3 separate regions of the Homo sapiens genome follow, and all the other regions are linked to region 2. Evidence: promoter capture Hi-C in 16 types of primary human blood cells and fetal thymus (Javierre and others, 2016). All regions are on one chromosome and are shown on one strand. Each heading gives the region's core, a stretch centred on a gene start or on the middle of the fragment in contact. The rest is flanking DNA. Distances are from core to core; before and after follow the strand shown.

Evidence for each region. The method cuts DNA at HindIII sites, captures the fragments that hold promoters and counts their contacts. A CHiCAGO score of 5 or more calls a contact.
Region 1: a contact is called between a fragment that was not itself captured here and the fragment with the promoter of PDZD9 in region 2, in 1 of 17 cell types (M0 macrophages). The highest score is 5.1, in M0 macrophages.
Region 3: a fragment that was not itself captured here is called in contact with the fragment with the promoter of PDZD9 in region 2 in 17 of 17 cell types (naive CD8 T cells, total CD4 T cells, megakaryocytes and 14 more); the score reaches 64.6 in naive CD8 T cells.

What each region holds. Positions count from the first base shown.
Region 1 is chr16:22,145,822-22,149,967 of GRCh38, forward strand. It overlaps VWA3A (von Willebrand factor A domain containing 3A), which reads left to right. Exons shown (of 34, transcript NM_173615.5): 27 at 415-523; 28 at 2,341-2,485; 29 at 3,966-4,110. Among named protein-coding and RNA genes, the nearest start is that of SDR42E2, 15 kb to the right of the region's middle. The HindIII fragment of the contact is 7,143 bases long and covers 1-4,146 here.
Region 2 is chr16:21,999,389-22,003,580 of GRCh38, forward strand. It overlaps PDZD9 (PDZ domain containing 9), which reads right to left and starts at 1,728. Exons shown (of 4, transcript NM_001363519.1): 1 at 1,629-1,728. The coding sequence starts at 1,659. It also overlaps the pseudogene LOC100420536. RefSeq lists an enhancer at 1,874-1,923. The HindIII fragment of the contact is 4,622 bases long and covers 1-3,102 here.
Region 3 is chr16:22,187,104-22,191,016 of GRCh38, forward strand. It overlaps SDR42E2 (short chain dehydrogenase/reductase family 42E, member 2), which reads left to right. Exons shown (of 13, transcript NM_001394319.2): 13 at 3,036-3,913. The coding sequence ends at 3,290. It overlaps LOC124903666 (a long non-coding RNA gene), which reads right to left and starts at 909. Exons shown (of 2, transcript XR_007065028.1): 1 at 868-909. RefSeq lists silencers at 3,034-3,123, 3,214-3,263, 3,404-3,503 and an enhancer at 3,209-3,708. The HindIII fragment of the contact is 461 bases long and covers 1,474-1,934 here.

The sequences.
Region 1 (4,146 bases), core at 54-2,553, 150 kb after region 2:
TTTTTGTTTGTTTGTTGAGACAGGATCTTGCTCTGTCATCCAGGCAGGAGTGCAGTGGTGCAATCACAGCTCACTGCAGCCTCTACCTCCCTGGGCTCAGGCAATCCTCCCACCTCAGCCTCCCCCAAGCAGCTGGGACCACAGACACATGCCACCACACCAGCTAAATTTTCTGTTTTTGGTAGAGATGAGGTCTCCCTATGTTACCCAGGCTGGTCTTGATCTCTTGGGCTCAAGCGATCCTCCTGCCTCGGCCTCCCAAAGCGCTGGGATTACAGGCATGAGCCACCGTGCCCAGCCAACAAATATTTTGAGAATTGTTAACCACAATGGAATAAACAATTTTAGGGGGTGATGGGGATATGAAGAAATGACTGATGGGGTGGGTGCTTGCCTCTGCTTGCCTTAACCCAGGGAGTGGTGAGACACATCCAGTGGACGCCCAGGGAGATGGAGGTGTACATCAGGCACTTGGAGAAGGTGTTAAGGCGCTATGTCCAGAGGCTGCAGTGGCTGCTGTCCGGTGAGCCTGCCCACTGCCCTGAAGGGTGGAGGAGCATGAGGGGATGTAGAAGGCTAGCCCCAGGGACCCCAGTGTCAGTCCTTCCAAAGCCAGGCCTTCAAGAACTGCAGATCAGAGGATTAGGCCAGGAACATCATCCACATACAACATGACACTGGGAGGCCGGGCGTGGTGGCTCATGCCTGTAATCTCTGCACTTTGGGAGGCCAAGGTGGGTGGATCACCAGTCAGTAGTTCGAAACCAGCCTGGCCAACATGATGAAACCCGTCTCTACTAAAAATACAAAAAATTAGCCAGGCATGGTGGCGGGCACCTGTAATCCCAGCTACTCAGGAGGCTGAGGCAGGAAAATCGCAGAGGTTGCAGTGAGCTGAGATCGCGCCACTGCACTCCATCCTGGGCAACAAGAGTGAAACTCTATCCAAAAAAAAAAAAAATGACAGTGGGTTCAGAGGACAGGCAAGGGGCTGGATAACAGGGAGGTGGAACATGGGCCAAAGAGCCCCAGCGGGAGCTCACACGCATCCCAGCCTGCTCTGCAAGGCCACCTGCCACACCTTGCCTTCCTGCAAGTGACAAGGGGCTCACTGTCAAAAGGTTTGCTTTAATATTGACTGCGCCCCAGCAAAACAGCCCCTGGAGATGCAGATGGTAAGGGGAACTGACAGAGCAGAAACCCTCTGTTTTGTTTTGTTTTAGAAACAGGGTCTTTCTCTGTCACCTAGTCTGGAGTCCAGTGGTGCAGTCATGGCTTACTGCAGCCTTGAACTGGGCACAAGCAATCCTCCCACCTCAACCTTGCAAGGACCTGAGACTACAGGCACGTGCCACCATGCCCAGCTTACTTTATTTATTTTTTTTAGATACAGAGTCTTTCTATGTTGCACAGGCTGGCCCCGAACTCCTAGGCTCAAGCTATCCTCCTGCCTCAGCCTCCCAAAGTCCTGGGGTTATAGGTGTGAGCTACTGTGTACCTCTTTACAGAGAGCACCAAGTCCCCTCCAGGAGAGGTGAATGGACAGGGTTGGGCTGTGGATTAAGAGACGGTCTGGAAGCATCAAGCCCAAGAAGACAGGCAGACAGCTAGAACTGGACAGGAGGGGATTCGGGCTATGGGGCCTGGAGGGTTTCTGGGGCATCAGGAGGAGGGAGGAAGGGAGTCCTATATAGAGATCCTACAGGTGGCTTTGTACGTGCCACTCAGGGTCCTGTGTAAATTCATTAGGTCCAGTCCTCTGCAGTAGGACCTGGTATAGACAGTCCATGGACAGGGGCGTCATGATGACTGCTGCTTCAGGTACAGTTGTCAGGTCAGAGGCTGAGCTGGGACAGAGAAGGCGTGAGCCTCTCTCCACCCTCGGTTCACATTACCCCTGGGAACGGTGACATAAAACCAGAGATCCAGCGATTTCTTTTGTAGTATGAATCCCCCAGCTCACATACCAGTACACACCCAAACACCATCTAATATTTTAAAACAATGTCATGGTACTATTTAATCCAATCACTTAACTTTAAGGATAAGGAAATTCAAGCCCAGGAGGTTATAACCGCTTGTGCAACTCATCACAGACAAAGCCAGAGCTGAAATCTCGATCTCCCAAAGCCCAAACCACTGACCAGGTCTGTCCTTGGACAATCGACCCCTCCCACAGCACCACAAAAGCCGTCTCTCAGTGGGGTGACATCCAATCAATGATCAGGCAGGCAACAGGTGTCACAAGACTTTATACTTGATAGATAGAGTGAGGGAAACCACCCAGGAGGAGGGACCCCTCACTCCCTCCCTGCCTCTTCCCCACCTGTCTCGGAGCAGGGAGCCGCCGACTGTTTGGCACCGTTTTGGAGAGCAAAGTATGCATATTGCTGGACACGTCAGGGTCCATGGGCCCCTACCTGCAGCAGGTGAAGACAGAGCTGGTTTTGCTGATTTGGGAACAGCTGCGGAAGTGCTGTGACAGGTAGGAGGCGAGGGCTGATCAGGAAGATCAAAGGGGCAGTTCCTGGGGCTTCCCTGGCCAAGCACGCCCCCTCTTCTCAGTGCCAACAGGCCTGGAGTTTCTGAGATGCTCTTCTGAGTAACGCGTTTGAGTAGGAAAGAGCACTGTATTCTGCTCTGCTGTGAAGGAAATCAGTTTTTAGAGGCCGGGTATGGTGGCTCATACCTGTAATCCCAGCAATTTTGGGGGCCAAGGCAGGAGGATCACTTGAGCTCAGGAATTCAAGACCAGTCTCAGCAACAAAGTGTCATCCCATCTCTTCAAAACATTTAAAAATTAGCTGGGTATGGTGGTGTGCACCTGTAGCCCCAACTACTTGGGAGGCTGAGAAGGGAGGATCACTTGAGCCCAGGAGGTTGAGGCTGCAGTGAGCTATGATTGCACCAGTGCACTCCTGCCTGGGCAACAGAGTAAGACCCTGTCTCAAAAAAAAAAGGAACGCAATTTTTAAAAATTAATTTCAGGCCTAGGGACAATTGCAAGCACAGCAAAGGAACTACCATGTGGCCTTGAAGTATGGCTTTCAGCTGAACTTGATTTGTTTTAAATTATTTAATGATTTAATTTTTTTAATTTTTGTGAACTTGATTTTTGAGTGGAGGAAGTTGTTTATTTTCCCCATCCAGAAGGGTTGACCCGAAGGGGACCCCAGGGGACTCTCATCGTAGACTAGGCCTCGTTCTTGCCTTAATCAGAGTATACATTTATTGAGCACTTTCTGTGCACCAGATGCTTTACACGCATCATTTCATCAACTCTCACAATGAGCCCGTGAGGTGTTGCTGTTATCGGCCCCCATTTTTCAGAAAAGGAAGCCAGGACTTCAAGAGGTTAAGACACTTGCTGAAGATCGGGTAACCAGTCACTGGCTGAGATAGGATTGTTTGGGTTGTTTGTTTGCTTGTTTGTTTTGAGACGGGGTCTCACTCTGTCTCCCAGGCTGGAGTGCAGTGGTGTGATCATAGCTCGCTGCAGCCTCAACGTCCTGGGCTCAAGTGATCTCCCACCTCAGCCTCCCAAGTAGCTTGGACTACAGGCGCACACCACCATGCCTGGCTAATTTTTTAAAAATCTTTTTCGTAGAGATGGGGGTCTCACTATGTTGCCCAGGCTGGTCTTGAACTCCTGGCCTCAAGCAATCCTCCCAGCTTGGCCTTCCAAAGTACTGGGATTACAGGCACAGGCCACTGTGTCTGGCTTGGGCTGGGATTTAAATCTATTTCTGTCTGCATTCAAATTGTCAGTGTGTACCCTCTCATTCTCAAGAGGCCCCACAGCCCTCTCCCTGAGGGGCCACAGGGCTCGTTGTAGGGGTCTTCAGTGACGAGCAAGAATAGTCCTCATGAGGGTAACTTATCTGAATTCAATCTAGACAGGCCTGTTCTAACCAATCTCTTTCTCCCCTTCTCTGCCCCTCACCTCCTCTTTTCCTCCTCCCCAGTTTTAACCTGCTCAGCTTTGCAGAGAGCTTTCAGTCATGGCAGGACACGCTGGTGGAGACCACAGATGCAGCGTGTCATGAGGCTATGCAATGGGTGACCCACCTGCAAGCTCAGGGCAGCACCTCCATCTTGCAAGCATTGCTGGCAAGTCCCACCACGGAGCCCGACCTTGACGCAAAA
Region 2 (4,192 bases), core at 478-2,977:
GGAGGCAGCACTATGGTCCTCGGAGAGCCAGACCCCAAGCACCAGACTAAAATATGAAAGACTTACAGGTTTTGCTACAAGGCTAGTCAGACAGCAATGTCAACCTTCCCAAGGACAAGCAGTCCAAATGACAACAGCCCTGCAGTGAAAAAGCCTAAGGCTGTCTGGCACCTGCCTGCCTAGTTCAGCCTCTTTGCCAACCTCAAGTCTTATCAAATCCTGATGCTGTGCGGAAAAAAGCCATAAAGAACAAGAATTGCTCAGTGCAGGAGTCTGCATCCTTCAGTAAGCCCACCTGGGGGCTAGCAGAAGTATAAAGTGATTAGAGCCTGGGCAACATAGTGACACCTCATCTCTTCTATTTAGGCTGGGCATGGTGGCTCACACCTGTAATCCCAGCACTTTGGGAGGCCGAGGGTGGGCGGATCACTTGGGGTCAGGAGTTCGAGACCAGCCTGGCCAGCATGGTGAAACACCGTTGCTACTGAAAACACAAAAATCAGCCAGGCGTGGTGGTTCACGCCTGTAATCCAAGCTACTCTGGAGGCTGAGGGGCAAGAATCGCTTGAACCCGCCTGGAAGGCGGGGGTTGCAGTAAGCCAAGATCATGCCGCTGCACTCTAGCCTGGGTCACAGAGCAAGACTCTGTCTCAAAAAAAAAAAAAAAATTAGCTGAATGTGGTGGTGCATGCCTACAGTCCCAGCTATGGGAGGCTGATGCAGGAGGATTGCTTGAGCCCAAGAATTGGAGGCTGCAGTGAGCCAGGAGCATACCACTGCACTCCAGCCTGAGCGACAGAACAAGACTCTGTCTCTAAAAATAAAATACAGTGACCCATATGCTATTTTAAGATTTATGTGCCCTTTTAATAAAAATGAAAGGGCCAAAGTCCCTATTTACATTGGTATAATTTTTTAAAGGCTCCTTACTATGTGATTTCATTTTTATGATGTTCTCCATGGAAAAGGCAAAAAAAAAAAAACGCTGTAAAAAACAGATGGGGGTGTGAGGAGCTGCAGTGGGGTGGGGTTTGGCTGCAACTGGGCATTGCAAAGTAATTTTAGGGAGTGGTGGAACTGTTCCCTATCTTGATGGAGGGGGTGGTTCAACGTGGGTATAGCTTGTCAAAACGGTAGCTGTACTTTTAAAAGGGGGGATCTTACTGCATGGAAATTATACCTTGATAAAAATAACGATGGCCAAGGCGGGCGGATCACTTGAGGTCAGGAGTTTGAGACCAGCCTGGCCAACATGGTGAAATCCCATCTCTACTAAAAATAAAAAATTAGCTGGGCATGGTGGCAGGCACCTGTAATCCCAGCTACTCGGGAGGCTAAGGCAGAGGAATCACTTGAGCCTGGGAGGCAGAGGTTGCAGTGAGCTGAGATCGCGCCACTGCACTCCAGCCTGGGGGACAAAGCAAGACTCCTTCTCAAATGATGATGATGATGATGATGATGATGATGATGATGATGATGATGATGATAATGATGATGATGATAACAACAACGATGGAGAGAGGTTATCTCCCAGGCCAAGAGTGCACCGTTGCCATTTTACAGAGGAGGAACATTGACGAAGGCTTGGTCCCCAGGGCTTCTTCACCCGCTTCCTTCTCCCCAGTTACCTTTTTTGTTTTTGTGGGAGGCCTTCTGCATGGTCCCGGGAGGTCAGGCAGCCCGGGAGGGCCTCCCGGAGCAGAGGCTGGAGTCAGTCCCAATGCCAACAGTTTCGAACCTTGCCCGCGGGCACTGCCCTCGGGATGGCCGCCAGGGGGCGCTGCGCCGCCACTGCCCAGAAATTGGGCGGCAGTGAGGTCGCCGCAAGGCTTCCCGTGGACCCTGCAAAACGTGGCGTGGGCATTGCACACCATTGTACTGTATGGAAACTTCTGCAGAGGTTAGCACCGTGCCTGACCCACGGTGGTTTCTTCATTCCTTCTTTTCTTTTTCTTTTTTTAAGAGACGGGCAGGGGGTGGGGGTCTCACTATGTTGCTCAGGCTCAACACAACTGTTGCACTATGGGCTCAAGCGATCTGCCCGCCTCAGCCTCCCAAAGTGCTGGGATTACAGGCATGAGCCACCGCGCTTGGCTTCTTCATTCATTCTTGGTGAACCTAAGAAATAGGGAGGGGGAGAAGGCACAGAGGAGGGTGTCTCAAAGATGTGAGGTGGTCTGCAGAGGAAGATCACAGCCAGAAGATCACAGGAGATCACAGAATACCTAGAAGATCAGAGAATCCCCCGCTGCACTTCTAATAATGGTATTTTAAAAAAATTGTTACATCAGTAGCTCCAATGCTTTGGAACTGCACTTTTTTTCATGAATGTTTTGAATAAGAAAAGGCCCCAGGGTGGCCTAAAAAAAAATGAGTCACTATTAGGAGAGGCACTATTAATGCTTCCTTCTTTTTTCCAAGATAATTCTTCCTCCCACACACATTCACTCATACAACAAGTATTTACAGGGAGCTGTTCTGTCATTTACTGATACTGGGGACACAACAGTAAGCAAGACAAACACAGAAACACAGGCTCTATCCTCTTGAAACCTGTACTTAAAAAACAGATGAAGTGGACAATTTTAGGAAAATATAAATTATTAAAAATAAATTCTAGGCCAGGTGTGGTGTCTAACACCTGTAATCCTAGGTACTCAGGAGACTGAGGCAGGAGGACTGCTTGAGCCCAGGAGTTTGAGATCAGCCTGGGCAACATAGTGAGACCCTTTCTCTATAAAAAAAATTTAAAAATTAGCTGGGCATGGTGGTGCACATCTGTAGTCCTAGCTACTCAGGAGGCTGAGATGGGAGGATCACTTGAGCCCAGGATTCAAGGCTGCAGTGAGCTATGATTGAGTCACCACCTTCCAGCCTGGGTGATGGAGCAAGATCCTGTCTCAAAAAATAAAAATGAATAAATGAGTTAGTAAATTCTAGAAGAAAGAGAAAACCTAATGAGGTAGGCCCTGGTGTTATCCCCGGTCTGATGAAACTGAGAGGCTAAGCACCTTGCCCCATCCCTTCAACAAACAGTCATTAACCACCTATTAGGTGTCAGGCACTGTGCAAAGATTTCCATGGTAGATCTGGTTATGTCCAAGCTTATTCTGTTGTTTCTGTGGCTCTACACAGACAATAAGCCAGGGCAGATTCCTCTTTAGGTTCCTTTTTTTTTTTTTTTTTTTTGAGATGGGGTCTCATTCTGTCACCCAGGCTGGAGTGCAGTGACAAAATCTCAGCTCACTGCAACCTCCGCCTTCCAGGCCCAAGCGATCCTTCCACCTCAGCCACCAGAGTAGCTGGGACCACAAGCCTGTGTCACCACGCCCAGCTAATTTTTGTATTTTTAGTAGAGACAGGGTTTTGCCATGTTGGCCAGACTGGTCTCCAACTCCTGAGCTCAGGGTGATCCACCCGCCTTGGCCTCCCAAAGTGCTGGGATTACAGGCGTGAGCGCCAGGACAGATTTCTCATTAGATAAAACCTGTGTCGTAGAGACCAGTACAAAGGGCTATTCTCCACCTCAAGTCTCCTGTGGGTGACTTCTTGTGACAGGTCACCTTTCCTCTTCCAAACAGTCTGGCAGGGGTCTACATAGATACCAACTTAATTCTATCATAAAATACATCTTTTTCCTCCATCTTCCTACCAGCAGGGGAAGGGTAAGAGTTTGTGGGAATAGAGCCCATCAGCATATATGGTTCTGTGATGGAGCATATCAGTGCCTGGCCTCCCCTTAGTCTTCCCTCCACCCCAGGCTAAAAAGTGTCTTTAAAGCGGAGGTCTCTACACTCCACCAAGCCAAGTAAGCCAAGGTCACACTGATTGGTGGAACTGCAGGATACAAACTGTCCTGGGTGCTGTGCTGCCCAGATCCCCCTTCAGGGCTGAAAGACTTACACTTCCCACCCTCACTACTACTACTGGCTGGAAAGAACGCCTTGCCCAAGATCTCACCTTCCTAGATTAACTAGCATCTGGTGACTGGTCAATGCAGGGCCATCCCAGGTTCAGAACTCCCCACGTGGTCCACTGCAGCCTTACTTTTCCCTCTGCCCTGTCCTGCTTCATTCCTTTTTTTTTTTTTTTTTTTTCAGAGAGAGTCTCACTCTGTTGCCTAGGATGGAGTGCAGTGGAGTGATCTCGGCTTACTGCAACCTCCACTGCCCAGGTTCAAGCAATTCTCGTG
Region 3 (3,913 bases), core at 454-2,953, 190 kb after region 2:
AGGCAAGTTTCAGGCCATTCACTTCTTTGAATGCTACCAATCCCACCAACTCTCAACACATACATACACACACACAACAGCCTGGTGGTCCTAGGCTCATAGTTCATGCTTACTGAATAATGAGTATATATTAAGTACCTACTACATACAGAATATAATTATTTTTATGAGACAGGGTCTCACTATATTGTCCAGGCTGGTTTCAAACTCCTGAGCTCAAGAGATCCTCTTGGCCAGGTGTGGTGGCTCGCACCTATAATCCCAGTGCTTTGGGAGGCTGAGACAGGAGGATCACTTGAGGCCAGGAGTTTGAGACCAGCCTGGGCAACATAGCAAGACCTCATCTCTACAAAAAATTTTAAAATTAGCCAGGCAAGGTGGTGCATGCCTTTAGTCCCAGCTCAGGTGGGGGATTACTTGAGCCCAGGAGTTCAAGGCTGCAGATTGCACCACTGTACTCCAGCCTAGGCAACAGATGGAGATCCTGCCCCTAAAAACCAAAAAAAAAAAAAAAGATTCTCCCCCCTCAGCCTTCTAAATAGCTGAGATTACAGGCATGCACCACCATGCCTGGCTCAGAATACTATTCTCATAATAATGATGATGCAGGTTTATATTTGCTTAGTTAAAAGAGAGGATGTTTTCATCACAGATTGTAAATAGCAAAGTAATCGGTGGTATTTGAGGTTATTTGCAAAAATCCTTCCAGTCCAGTCGGGCACGGTGGCTCACACTTGTTCCCAGCACTTTGGGAGGCTGAGGCGGGTGGATAACCTGAGGTCAGGAGTTTGAGACCAGCCTGGCCAACGCAGTGAAATCCTGTCTCTACTAAAAATACAAAAATTAGCTGGGTGTGGTGGCACATACCTGTAGTCCCAGCTACTCGGGATGCTGAGGCAGAAGAGTCGCTTGAACCTGGAAGGTGGAGGTTGCAGTGTGCTGAGACCACACCATTGTACTCCAGCCTGGGTGACAGCACAAGACTCCATCTAAAAAAAAAAAAAAAATTACTTCCAGTCCACTCTCGTTTTATTGTCTCTGATGCCCTGCTAAGTTAAAAAGGTCAAAAAAAAATCGTGATCTCCATTTTATGATGAAAAATTGAGCACTAGGAAAATTATTTGTCCAAGGCCACACCATACTGGAATTGGCTTCAGACTCCATGTTCAGTGCTCTTTAACAAGGGGAGTCAGAGGGGGAGAGTGGAGAATGGGCCACAGAAAGAAGTAGTCACCTATGGCTTCTCCTTTGAGCCATCCGGATCAGTGGAGGAGAGAATAAGATGATACTGACAATCTCTTGAGTTGTGACAGTATGCCAGGCACTGTGCTTTATCTCATTTAACTGAGTTGTAGACAACATTGTCCTCTCCATTTAGAGAGGAGGAAATGAGACACACAGTGAAATAACCTGCCCGTGATCACTCACTTAAATGGTAGAGCTGGGATTTGAACCCAGACCTCAGTGATTTCAAGCTTAACCATTAGCTTGTGAAAATGCATCAGGAATCACATCCACATAAAATAGCTGCCAGGGTGCAGCTGAATTGTGGTCAGGCAGGGACTTGGCTCCTCTCCCTCTTGTTTAACTTGGGGATTTCCTTGTTCAGCTCAGGGGCAATGTCCTTAACTGTGGAAGTTCCTTGGCTGTGGCTCGGGTACCCTCTGCTGGTCAATCTGTGACACATCAACCAGCCCTCCAGTTTGACTTTATAGCCTTTTATGCATTTAACATAAATGTTACCAGGCACTGTGCTGAGCAACGGAGGCAAGAAGACATAGTCCTTGCCCTTAGGGAGCTCCTAGTTCAAAGGGGAAGACAGCCCACTAACCAGGCAACTCAACACTGTAATTAGAGCCATTCTTGGGAAAATCGCGAGAAACTCCAGTGCACACAGAAGGGGCGCCTCAGCCAACTCTGAGGAAGTCAGAGAAAGCTTCCCAGAGGTGACATCTAGAGACATCTAGGTGTATTAGGGACCCTGCTTATCTAGCGTAACTCAACTCCTGTGCTCCCCAAAGCCCTGCACTTACTGACTAGGAAAAAAAGGGACAAATACTGGCCTCTCTCCTCACCCCCCATTAAGCATCCAAGACCACAGGTTTGACCCCAGGGGCTGTTTCAATGCCATGGGAGAATCCAGCAGCTGGTGGATTCTTCCCCAGGGTCCGGCTGAGGAAAAAGAGAGGAAGAAATGAGTCAGGTGGGAGAACATCTCCAGGTGCCAGCACAGCAGAGAAGAAATTAGGCTAGAACCTGGCTCCCCTGTGCGACCCCAGGCAAGTCACTCAACCTCTCTGACCTTTTTCCAAGTATGCACAGAACAGATAGTGCTAGTACCACCTGAGAGGATTAAATGAGGTAGGGCATAGAAAGGATTTAGTCCAGGCCAAATGCAGGGTGTGTGTTCCTTAACTGCTGATAGCTATCATTACTACCCTTCAAACCAGTGGGCCCCAAGCCATCTGGCAGCAGGGGAAACACAGCTTAGACCCTGGAGAGCAATCAGTTCTGCATAATCGAATTCCTCTCTTAGGGAAGCTTAGTTAATAAGCGAGGGCATGAAGGCTGCGACTGGGGCCCTCCTGGTCACAGTTGGTCTGGGGTTGGGGGCAGGAAGCCAAGGTCGTTTCCTGCAGATGTTTCTGGCAGGCGTTCACCTTCTCCTAGCGGATGCCTAAGAATGTATCAAGGGCCTCCTGAGTCCCAGCACCGTGCTAGGCCGGGAAGATGAGTGTAGGGGTGAGACCTTTGCTTCTTAGGGACCAAGGAGTTAAATAGGGTGCGAATTCAGCGGGGCTGGAGGGGGCGACGCAAAGGCGGCACCCTCCAATAAAAATGAACATGTAAGGAAGAAAGGAAGACCTCTCTAATGAGGGCATCGCAGGAGCAAGACGCTGCACTCGGGTCCTTTTAAATCACTATGTAATGGAGGGGAAATCCCTGCCCTCTCTTTTCCCTTTCCGTAAACAACGAAGTAGAGGATGTCCTCCTCCCACGAGGCCCGCCCTCGGATGCCCCGCCTGTCCCCGCAGGTGCGCAGCGTGGCCGTGACGCACACCTTCCAGATAGCCAAGGCCCGCGCCCAGCTCGGCTACGCGCCGGATAAGTTTAGGTTCGCCGACGCCGTGGAGCTATACGTGCAGTCCACGACCCGGCGGCCCCGCGGCTCCACGGCGCGGACCCTCCTGCGCCTGCTGCTCAGGCTGCTGCTGTTCCTCGGCTTGCTCGCCCTGGCCCTGCACTTCCTAGGCCTGCAGCCTCTGCACGCCGCCGTGGAGCGCCTGTGACCGTCCGCCGTCCGCCGCCCGCTAGGGTCGGCCCCGCTGCACCCTCGCCCACGCCCGGCTCCCTGGGCTTGTACCAGCCCCTGCCCCGCCTTCTGGGTTTGAGCGCGCCTCCGCTCCGCCCCTTGAATCCTGGTCACGCCCCCGAGCCGCTCTCCAGACCTAGCCCGGACCGCCGACTTCTGGCCACGCCCCTATCTACTCCCAGACCTTGCCTTGCGCCCTTCCTGTGTTTTGGCCCCGCCCCTGTCCTGTCCCGCCCCGCCCTCCGAAGTGGGCACGCTCCTGCTCCGCCCCCTGAATCCTGGCCACGTCCCTGGTCGGCCCAGACGCGTAGCCCCGAGTCTCTTTCCATGTTTTGACCACGCCCTTGACCCGCCCTTCAAATTGGGCACGCCTTCTTCCCCGCTCACTGATTTCCTGGCCTAGCCCCTGAGCAGACCTCCAGACCTAGCCCCGCCCCCGTTTTATAACCCCGCCCCTGCTTCACGGCTTGGGCACGCCTCTTCCCCGCCCCCTGACTTCAGAGCCTAGTCCTGAGCCGCTCTCCAGGCCTAACCCCGCCTTCATGTCATAGCCACGCCCCTTCCCGCCCTTCCATGTTTGGGCACGCCTTCTGAGTCCTG